Linked DNA regions of Homo sapiens: region 2 is linked to region 1. Evidence: promoter capture Hi-C in 16 types of primary human blood cells and fetal thymus (Javierre and others, 2016). All regions are on one chromosome and are shown on one strand. The core of a region is centred on a gene start or on the middle of the fragment in contact, and the rest is flanking DNA. Distances in the headings are between cores, read along the strand shown. Region 1 holds the start of TAF7 (TATA-box binding protein associated factor 7). Region 2 overlaps KCTD16 (potassium channel tetramerization domain containing 16).

Evidence for each region. The method cuts DNA at HindIII sites, captures the fragments that hold promoters and counts their contacts. A CHiCAGO score of 5 or more calls a contact.
Region 2: a fragment that was not itself captured here is called in contact with the fragment with the promoter of TAF7 in region 1 in 1 of 17 cell types (naive CD8 T cells); the score reaches 5.4 in naive CD8 T cells.

The regions. Positions count from the first base shown.
Region 1 is chr5:141,318,660-141,324,368 of GRCh38, reverse strand. It overlaps TAF7 (TATA-box binding protein associated factor 7), which reads left to right and starts at 3,585. Exons shown (of 1, transcript NM_005642.3): 1 at 3,585-5,709. The coding sequence starts at 4,325. The coding sequence ends at 5,374. RefSeq lists enhancers at 3,057-3,206, 3,217-3,276, 3,857-4,056. The HindIII fragment of the contact is 5,333 bases long and covers 1-4,553 here.
Region 2 is chr5:144,192,851-144,198,030 of GRCh38, reverse strand. All of the region lies in intron 2 of KCTD16 (potassium channel tetramerization domain containing 16), which reads right to left. Among named protein-coding and RNA genes, the nearest start is that of KCTD16, 25 kb to the right of the region's middle. The HindIII fragment of the contact is 1,273 bases long and covers 762-2,034 here.

The DNA of each region.
Region 1 (5,709 bases), core at 2,336-4,835:
TAGATAATCTAAAATCACATCTGTGGCTGACCATCTGTGGCCCACATCATATTTCTATAGGACAAAGCTGTGCTAGACTACCTGTATTTTGGGATCATAGATTTTCTTACTGTTTAAACCAGCATAAATTAGATTTTAATGTTTTCCTATAGAAAACATCCTACTAGATAAAAGAACTGCTAAATATTTTTAGTTAACCTTTTTATCTTTAAAATATATGGTGATATAGCAATATGTAAGCTGGCTTTTCTGTGGTATTTGCTATTTCCTCACCCCTATAATTTTCTACCTCCTAAATATAAGCAGGATTTCTCCCATCACCCATAATTTAACCTCCAAAGTATAAGCAGCCCTTTAAGGAACTAAAAAGTGTATTAAAGGGCAGCTTATATTTTGGAGCCCTTTAAAGAACTAGAAAGTGTATTAAAGGGAATTTTCAAACATACACGATTATTAGTAACCTGATTGCCACACTCCTTAATCACAGACAGGAAGCCTTTGGAGGACTTGTTACCACACTGGGGAATTTATTGCTCTCCCCAAATCTTTTGTTCACTGGTATCACAGATATTCCATGGAACAACCACAGGAGTGTAATTCATCAATTCAGAGTTTTTCTGAATGTCTAATGGAACTTTTTTTTAAAAAAAAACTGGGGATTTATCAGTAGACATTAAGATAATGTGATGTGGCAGAGGCCTTAGGCCTTAGTGATAGGCAGAGGACTGCCACATCACATTATCTTTTTTTTTTTTTTTCTTTTTGAGATGGAATTTTGCTCCAGTGTTGCCCAGGCTGGAGTGCAATGGTGCAATCTTGGCTCACTGCAACCTTCGCTTCCCGGGTTCAAGCAATTCTCCTCCCTCAGTCTCCCGAGTAGCTGGGATTACAGGTGCCCGCCGCCAAGCCTGGCTAATTTGTTTTTGTTTTTGTTTTTGTTTTATTTTTGAGAAGGAGTCCCCTCTATTGCCCAGGCTGGAGTGCAGTGGCGCGATCTCGGCTCACTGCAAACTCTGCCTCCTGGGTTCACGCCATTCTCCTGCCTCAGCCTCCCGAGCAGCTGGGACTACAGGTGCCTGCCACCGCACTCGGCTAATTTTTTGTATTTTTAGTAGAGACGGGATTTCACCGTGTTAGCCAGGATGGTCTCAATCTCCTGACCTCGTGATCCACCCGCCTCGGCCTCCCAAAGTGCTGGGATTACAGGCGTAAGCTACGGCGCCTGGCCCTTTTTTTGTATTTTTAGTAGAAATGGGGTTTCACCATGTTGGCCAGGCTGGTCTCGAACTCCTGACCTCAGATGATCCATCCGCCTTGGCCTCCCAAAGTGCTGGTATTACAGGCATGAGCCACTGCACCCAGCAGATTATCTTAATGTCTACTGATAAATCCAATTTAAAAAAATATTTAGGGTCAATATAATTTCCTCCCCTAAAACAGCATATAGAAAATGTGTTAAACTCAAAAGCAGAAAATGTATTTCAGGACTGAAGGAGCTAGATACATTAAGAAAACCTCAGTTAATCCTTTTAACTATGTCTGGCAATATTCCATGTAAAGAAAGGTTTAGAAACTAAAATACACAGTAATTTTGGAAAATGAAAAATTGCATACAATTTATCTCAAGTTACCTTCTATGATAAGAATATTTGAGCATCATAAAACTCATAGGGAAGATGCTGAGTAATATTTGGATTATTTTCATGTATAATGACCTCACATTGTATATGGTTAAACAAAACACAGCCAGGCGAGGTGGCTCAAGCCTGTAACAGAAAAAACTTCATCTTTGAAAAAGAGGAAATAGATCATTCTGGAAATTACAAGTAAGTCAGCTAACATTCTTCAACACATTATAAGCAAAGAGAAATAATTTACCGTTATCTGGAAGGGCATACTTTCTCTTTTAAAATTAACATTAAAAACCAAACTAACGTCAGGTCATTTTAATTTCCTCCCACAACAGTATCTCATTCTAGCTAAACCACATTCACACACACTATTAGTAAACCTCCCCACCTCATAACAATTAGAATTGTCCTTGACTAGAAAGGAAATGTATGTAAAGTGGCTCTATCTCATTTTAAAATGACAAAGAATGTATTTTCTCTCAGAAATCACTACAGGATTTGAGACTATGATCTTTCTAGACAGATAAGTTTTTTCATTCAATTAGCAAATATTTTTTGTGTATCTCCCACATTCTGGTACTAGGCACTGGGACACAATGACCAGGATAGAAGAAGATCACTATCATGGAGCTTTCAATCATACAAGAATAAAGTGAATTTTGGAAATGTTAATTACATCTTAAGAGAATTCTCTTAAATTTAGGGGCAATTGTTAATATTTTAGAGGATAGAAATGAAATATTAATGGCCTTGATGCTCTCCCAGATATTTTAAAAATAAATGGAAATAAATAGAAATAAGTACCAACTGTTACCCAGTTATGTTAAAATACTAAAAATATGTGTTGATGAATACCTGACTATTGATAGAAAAGACAAGCAGAAAACAGCAAAATAGTAGAGGTGGAGTTAAAAAAAATGTCAAAGTAATTTAAAATTACTTGTACATGAGAGACAGGAAACAATACTTCAATTATATCTACTTTAACCAGATGCTCAGTCTATCAGACAATTCTGTCCAAAAGAACACTTCCTTCTCTGTTTACATTTACATCTAAATCAAGCACATAAAAAGGAATCACCCTTGTTTCCCCAGAAGTATTATAGAACACAAGTAAAACCAGAGGCACAATTCCCCTACAGGGAATTATATTTAAAAATACAGACTTTGGGCCATGCGCGCTGGCTCACACCTATAATCCTAGTACTTTGGGAGGCCAAGACAGGCAGATCACCTCAGGTCAGGAGTTCGAGACCAGCCTGGCCAACATGGTGAAACCCCTTCTCTACTAAAAATACAAAACTTAGGTGGGGTAGTGGAACGTGCCTGTAATCCCAACTACTTAAGAGGCTGAAGCAGGAGAATCGCTTGAACCCCAGAGGTGGAGGTTGCAGTCAGCCAATATTGTGCCACTGCACTCTAGCCTGGGTGACAGCCTGAGACTCCATCTCCAAAACAAACAAACAAACATATATATAGAGAGAGACTTATATAGTAAGCTGCATGTCCTCCTCACTCCATTGATTTGGGTACTTTGAAATCCATTGTATAGTAGCTACACATTCTTGTATTGGCACCAGATAGGCTAGACTCTAGGGAACATCCGAGATGTTTCCAGAAGCAAAGACGCTTACTGCAAGGCGTCCCCCATCTCCCGGAATCACCCGGAAGTCTAGAAGCCATCCGGCCCCACAGCGATCCCGTAAAAGTGCTGGCTTAGCGGGGGACGAATCTGTGTCTTTCTTGGAACTTCCAAGCTCTAAATAGTTTGAAACCAACAGCTCTTCCGAAACACTGTCATTTCCATCCCGGAAAAACAAGTTCTCGCGAAAAGATGAGTTTCACGCTGGGCAGCGTAATTGCGCTATTGCGCCTGCGCTAGCTGGGGCTCCGCCCTTCCGCCCGGAGGGGCTGTCACTCACAGCCGCCTCCCGCCCCGCGTCGCGACGTAGCACTTCCGTTTTTGCTGGGTAGGCGACCCGGACGGAGGGCCGGCGAGGTGCGGGGTCTGGTGATGCGAGCTGCGCCTCTCGGCAAGATTTCGCGCTGCCCATCCCGGGCCCTTTCATCAGTAATCGGTAGTGGATCACTCTGCCAAGCGGCAGGAAGAATTAAGGAAACGACAAGGAGACGCTCGGCTCTCTCCCGCTTGGCTCCTTGCGGCCTCCTCTTCCCTTCGCTCCGGCCCGGTGAAACTGAACTTATAATCGTCACTGGATTGTAAGTACCCGAGGCGAAGAGAGCTCGCTGAGCCCTGATTTTTTGAGTGTCTTTGTTCCGGGAGAGTTTGTGAGTTGAAAGTATCTCTGCTGGGCTTTCTGGGCCGAAAACCGTTCCGGGGGAGCCGCCATTTGCTTTCCTGTTCCCTAGCTAGCTAGCTAGCTCTCTCCGCGTTGTCCGGCAGCGGCACCTAGAGGTTGGGACTTGGCATTGCATCTGATTTAATGAACTTAAGTCTGTGAATAAGCCTTTGTGTTAACGACTGGTATTCGGTCACAGCATATTTAGAGAAAAGACTTGGAGCTTAAATAAAAACTAAGGCAAAATAGACGCTTAGCTGCTGATCTACAGAGAACTTCTTGTAATTAAAAGATTTCAATTCATAGCAAACTGGTGTTTTAAACTATTGCAGTAGCTGGAACTTTTTAGTGTAACCAGCATTTATTGGAGAAGTGAATCACAAGGAAATAAAGATGAGTAAAAGCAAAGATGATGCTCCTCACGAACTGGAGAGCCAGTTTATCTTACGTCTGCCTCCAGAATATGCCTCTACTGTGAGAAGGGCAGTACAGTCTGGTCATGTCAACCTCAAGGACAGACTGACAATTGAGTTACATCCTGATGGGCGTCATGGAATCGTCAGAGTGGACCGTGTTCCATTGGCCTCAAAATTAGTAGACCTGCCCTGTGTTATGGAAAGCTTGAAAACCATTGATAAAAAAACTTTTTACAAGACAGCTGATATCTGTCAGATGCTTGTATCCACAGTTGATGGTGATCTCTATCCTCCTGTGGAGGAGCCAGTTGCTAGCACTGATCCTAAAGCAAGCAAGAAAAAGGATAAGGACAAAGAGAAAAAGTTTATCTGGAACCACGGAATTACTCTGCCTCTAAAGAATGTCAGGAAGAGAAGGTTCCGGAAGACAGCAAAGAAGAAATATATTGAATCTCCAGATGTTGAAAAAGAAGTGAAACGATTGCTGAGTACAGATGCTGAAGCTGTTAGTACTCGGTGGGAAATAATTGCCGAAGATGAAACAAAGGAGGCAGAAAATCAAGGCCTGGATATCTCTTCTCCAGGAATGTCTGGTCACAGGCAGGGCCATGACTCATTAGAACATGATGAGCTTCGGGAGATATTCAATGACCTCAGCAGCAGCAGTGAGGATGAAGATGAGACCCAGCATCAAGATGAAGAAGATATAAACATCATTGACACGGAGGAAGATCTGGAGAGACAGCTACAGGACAAGCTAAATGAATCAGATGAACAGCACCAGGAAAATGAAGGAACCAATCAGCTGGTTATGGGAATTCAGAAGCAGATTGACAACATGAAAGGCAAGCTCCAAGAGACCCAGGACAGGGCAAAACGACAAGAGGATCTCATCATGAAAGTGGAAAATCTGGCTCTCAAGAACAGATTTCAGGCTGTACTGGATGAGCTCAAACAAAAGGAAGACCGAGAAAAGGAGCAACTCAGCTCTTTGCAAGAGGAGCTAGAATCACTCCTAGAGAAGTAAAAAGAACTGATATTTAATTTCAGTCTTCAGACTGGTCAGCATTAGAAAATTCTTGGCTTTATTGTACTGGGTATTAAGACCTTGCTCTTCCTAGTCCTTTTAATGCTGTGTGTTCTGTTAAGTTCTTTCATTTGTTTGTAATTTTGTTTTTCAGCAAATTTATATTGTTTTGCTAGGTGTTCATCCTATAAGAAGCAGGATTGTATAGGCAGAAAAATGATTGTAGGAAAGTTGCAGGATTAGCGGAATGTATGGTTCAACCTTAATTATAGCTTCATTGCAGGACTTTACTGTTTCTCCATTTTCTAGAAGCTGCTGTTGCTGCTTTGTGATGA
Region 2 (5,180 bases), core at 149-2,648, 2.9 Mb before region 1:
GGTATTCATGTCTTCGATGTGGGGTCAAATTGGAATGGAAAAAAAGAGAAACCTTTAAAAGAAACACTCCTGAAAGAGTAAGAGATCAGAGTTTCCAGTTTCAAAATTTCACTGACACCAGTTTCTTAAAAGATTCATGTCTGTGCCTGTGGCCAAACAAATTAATAAAATTAACTGACCCAATTGCCAGGCAATTCCACATACATTTTCTATCTTAATTCCTAAAACAATCCTGAAATGTTAGCATTGTGGGGAGAATAAAAGAGCCTCCAAGAGGTTAAGTAACCAGCAGCGGATCACACCAAACCTGTCTGATTCCGAGGTCCTTTTTCACTACACCCAAATTATTTGGGCATATAGTTTCTTTTATTAAATATGCTCACTGTGTACCCAATGGTTTGGCATCACAAAGAACACCAACACAATCCAGCATAGATCACCACTATATCCCCAATCGCAGTTCAGTGCCAGGCTCAGAGTAAGCACTCTATATATATTTGTCAAAGGGTTGTGAGAATGAACAAGCAAATGAATGAATGAAAGAATAAACCACCAATTAGGCCAGTGGTATCCAGAAGTTTCATCTGGATATAACAAGCATGTGATCTAAGAGTGTAGCATATCTAATTTTCTTTACTCCTGAAATGTTGTTTCCAAATGTGAAAAGTGAAATGTTTATGAATAGAGCATCAGAGAACTGACCCTTCATGAATCCAAAAGGATAAGTAATATATATGTTTATGTTCCAGAATTTAAAAGCTTATAGAAATAAGACATTGCTTTTAGGATAAAAGTTTACATCAGAACTATAAAATTCTAGTTTTTATTTTTTAAAAAGTGCTTATATGCTTGAAAAATATGATTTACTGAAAAAGTATTTTGTCAAGGTACCAGACAATTATAATCCAACTATTTTATGCATCAGTTACTCTGCATTCTTTCCAAACATGTGTGTAGGATGGGTTATGGAGTTAGAATGCCTGATAATGATTGACCTACATAGACACACATACCGGGCACAAGATTTAAAGGGCCAAAGTACATAATTCAAATATGAGGTAGGAAACATCACCTTTTTTGCTGTACAACGCAGATTTGCACAGCTGCTGCCAAGGAAATTGCATGTTACCTTTACAGACAATGATCTGAGCCTCAAGCACATCTCACAATTACCCTAGGGGTCTCTCAAAATGACAGGCTGGTACTATTGCAATGTGCAGTTCCAATAGCTGCCAGAGGACATCAGACAATTGTTTGAAATGGAGCCAGTGTTGTATATCTTCCTGATAAATCTGGTTGCCATTCATCAGGAAAAAGAATGCCTATGAACAAATGGAGTGACACAAAAAAAGATTTATGTATCTGATAGAACCTGGATTCAACCTGGTGTCCCTTGAACAATCTCTTGAATTTTTCATATATTTAAATGAGGTCTTGAGAGTAGTTACATACATCTGTGTTGTTGATGTGCCATAATACAGGACATAGAAGCTGCAATTACTCCTGGATAGGACATATAATACAATTATAAATTAAGATTAAAAATTAGATGAAAGGGCTAGGGATGGAGAAATAATAAATGTTTTATTTGCCCCAAAGACAGTAATAAAATACCTTCCTTTTATTGCCATTTGGTCCGAGGTCATTTATACCTATAAGGGTAAAGAAAGAAAAAGTAACTGCCCAATGGAAGTGACTGATGGAGTTTTATTATTGTGAGGCACTGACAATAATAAAAGTGCTTCACAATAGTAAAAACTCGCTTCCCTCCAAAAAAATAAGATCACCTGCAGAGCCACTGGCCAATCAGAGCCGACATAGAGTCCTTCCCTAGAGCCCCACATAGTAATGACAGCTAAGATTGCTGGAGTCCAGCAAAATACGTTTTGAGCTCCTTTAAAATGTTTTGGCCATGTCTCTTATTATCATTCATTTACTCAAATATTTATGTGTATCTATTTGTACAAGGAACTATGTTAGGCTTTGTAGAGAATGTAATAGTGAATCAAACATGAGTGTTACCTTCACTAAGCTTATAATCCAATAGGGGAAAACACTCTGTGTCTGACTTGGAGACAACTGGCACACAGGAGAAAGTGATGACTGCTGTTAAGAGAAGAGGAAAAAGTTCTATGAGAGCAACAGAGCAACCAAAAGCAAAGTCATTTTTTGAAACTCTAAGAAACATCATGCCTAGAACAAAGTGCCCATTAATAAATTATTGATGAACTAAAGAAAGTGCCACTTTGCATTACTATACATTTACTCGGTATGAAATCAGAGAGGCACTCATTTAGAATTCATTTAGAGCTGTTCCAGACAGGGCTGATTCATTAGAGTGCTGATGATCTCAGAAATATTTTATATGTGTATATAAATGTAAGTCCGTTGCAGCACTCTACCGTACAGCTAATCTGTATTTGGTTCTCAGCCAGTGAAGACTAAGAGCCATTTGAGTGGCCCTTCCCTCTCCATTTGTTGACTCCACCAGCTCCCTCTTTCTGTGGTTCCTTGTGTGCCAGTGAACACTGAAGCTCAAGATGGCTGACAAAAGGTGACCAAGCAACGGTGCTGGAGATTCTGCAAAAATCATGAAAGGTGCTGGATGGTAGCAAGCAGGCTGCACTGCAACAACCTCAGATGCCCCCAAGGAGGTGGTCTAAGAAACCCAGATCAGCAGACATTTGTTGCCTGGTAGAAATCCTTTGAGATTTTGAAGGACAACATAAGCCTTGCAGCAACCCAGAAAGATAAGAAAGGTAAATAGAAGAAATCTTGGGCCAAAGGCACATATAGCATCAATGTAGTTAATGTGATAATTTCCAGGAAGAGATTCCCCCATGCTAACAGGGTATGCCTATAGTTTAACAATTGGGGGATGGTGGTAGAGGAGGATTTCAAGCACTATTTCTATTTCAGATACACAGGGAGTCCTGTAATTAAGGATATCCTGAGGGTCTGGGGAAGCTGACGGTGTAAGCAACAGTTCTTTAAGGCAAGTGTGTGACACAAAGGAAATCTAATAAAAGAACAAGTTACTTTTGATCAGCACAAAATGACAACATTGAAGGATTTGTGGTCACCTTTCATTACTGCAAATAAAATTTTCCTTAAGTTCACCTAGTATTCACAAATTCATAGTATTCACAAAAAATACCAAAACACAATTTAAGTACTAAAAATGATTATTTCTTGCACAGAGAAGCAATAGAGCATCATGGTTAAAAGGGTGGGCTTTGGGATCAGAGAGTCCTGGGGTCGAATCCCACCTCCATTGTTTACCAGCTGAAAAAGTTACATACATCTGAGCCACAGTTTTCTCATCTGTACAACAGGGGTAATAATTGTACTTCCCATACAGAGTTTTGTGAGAACTAAATAAATAATGCATGTTAAATGCTTAGTGCACTAACTGGCCCATAGTAAATGCTCAACAAATGTATCATTTGCTATTACAAACACATTGCTTCGTGTCTTTTTAAAAATGAATTCTCTCCTTCCCCAAACTGTTCTAATTATTAGCTCCACAAGAGCTCAGGGTAGAGCCACATCACTAACATTGACCAATCCTTACTCTGGACCCCTTACAGATGTGAAGGGAAGGAAACAGAGCAATCATATAAATCTCCCTTGAGGATGCAGAGCCTCCTACTGAGAGGTGGTTTGGATAAGTCAAAGAGCACCATACGGCAGTGTTGTAATGTTTCCCGCATGGATAACACATTTTCTACTTGACAAGTTATCAGTGTCACCATCTCTGGCCCCATAAGCTCCAGAGCTTGTTCCTCATTTGTTAGATGTCACTTGTCCCAGCATGGTGCTTTATATACAAGGATATCTGAGTGAAAGTCTGCACATTTTTAATGTTCTCTTCTTTCTTCCTAAATATTCCCCCTTGTTGACTAATTCAGTCTCGGTGAACCATCTTCACTGTATGCAAATGACTGTAACACCTAAATGCTTGGCCTTGCTTTCTTCTCAACTTCCATACACCTGCTGGGCATTTTTACAGAGATCTACCAGCACCTTACACTCGAGTCCTAAGCTAAATATCTGTTTTCCACTCTCATCTTTTTCATTTCTCCAAGTTCTCCTTCTGTGTTAAGAGCATCACAGGTTTCTCAGTCCAAGTGAAAATCCATCATCTGATCCCTCCCTTTCCATTGGCACCCAACACTCAATAATTAAGTCTACCCACTTTCTCTACTATACTTCTTTCAGATATCTCTTCTCTTCGCTTCCATTTGTCGTACCTTTGTTCTTTGCCTTTTACCCAAATTTGACTAAGAAATAATTATGGAGCCATGAGCCAGGCACAACACTAAGCTATAAGCTCTATGTGTTGGGGATCCAGAAATGAATAAAGTAGACCAGCTCTTTGCCATCATGGAACTTCCATTATAGGCCAGACACACAGATCATAAACAAATAAACAAATAAATGAGCAAGATCATTTCATATAGTGAAATGAGCTATGAATAAAATAGAATAGGTAATATTTAAAAAATCTTGTTTGGGGCAAGGAGAAGAGGATTGATACTGCAGGCTGAGACTCTGGGGAGGGGAGCCAGCTATGTGAAATGCTGGGAACAGTGTGCTCTAGGCAGGTGGAATGGAAACAGCAAAGGCTCAGCTGTCTGAGGTGAAACTAAGCTCGGCTTGTTCAAGGAACCAAGAAAGCCAGCAAGTTGGATCCCAATGAGCAAGGGTGAGAGTGCAGGTCTGAGAAGTAGGCAGGGACCAAACCACAGATTTCATTCTATGTGTTATGGGAAGTCATTGGGAATTTAAAGTTAGAAGTGACATGTTCTGGTTTGCTTACTTTTTAAAAGGTGACTTTGGCTGATATGGGGATAACAGATTGTCAGGGAAACAAAATTAGTTGTAGGGAGATCAGTGGGGAGAATTTACAGGGATTTAGTGATATATGATGATGTCTCAGACCAGAGTGAAGTAGAATACATGAGGAAAAGCTAGCAAGGATTTTGGGGGTACAGGTGGTGGTATTTCTATATGGACCTGTTAATGTTCTTCCTCCTTTCAAGTTTTTACATCTCAGTTCATTTGACACAAAGCTAACAGTGTCCTCTTTCTAAAGATGCCATTATTTGCCCAGATATCTTAATTGGCTCACCACTGCTCATAGAATAAACTCCAAAGTCCTTGGTGTATATTCAAAG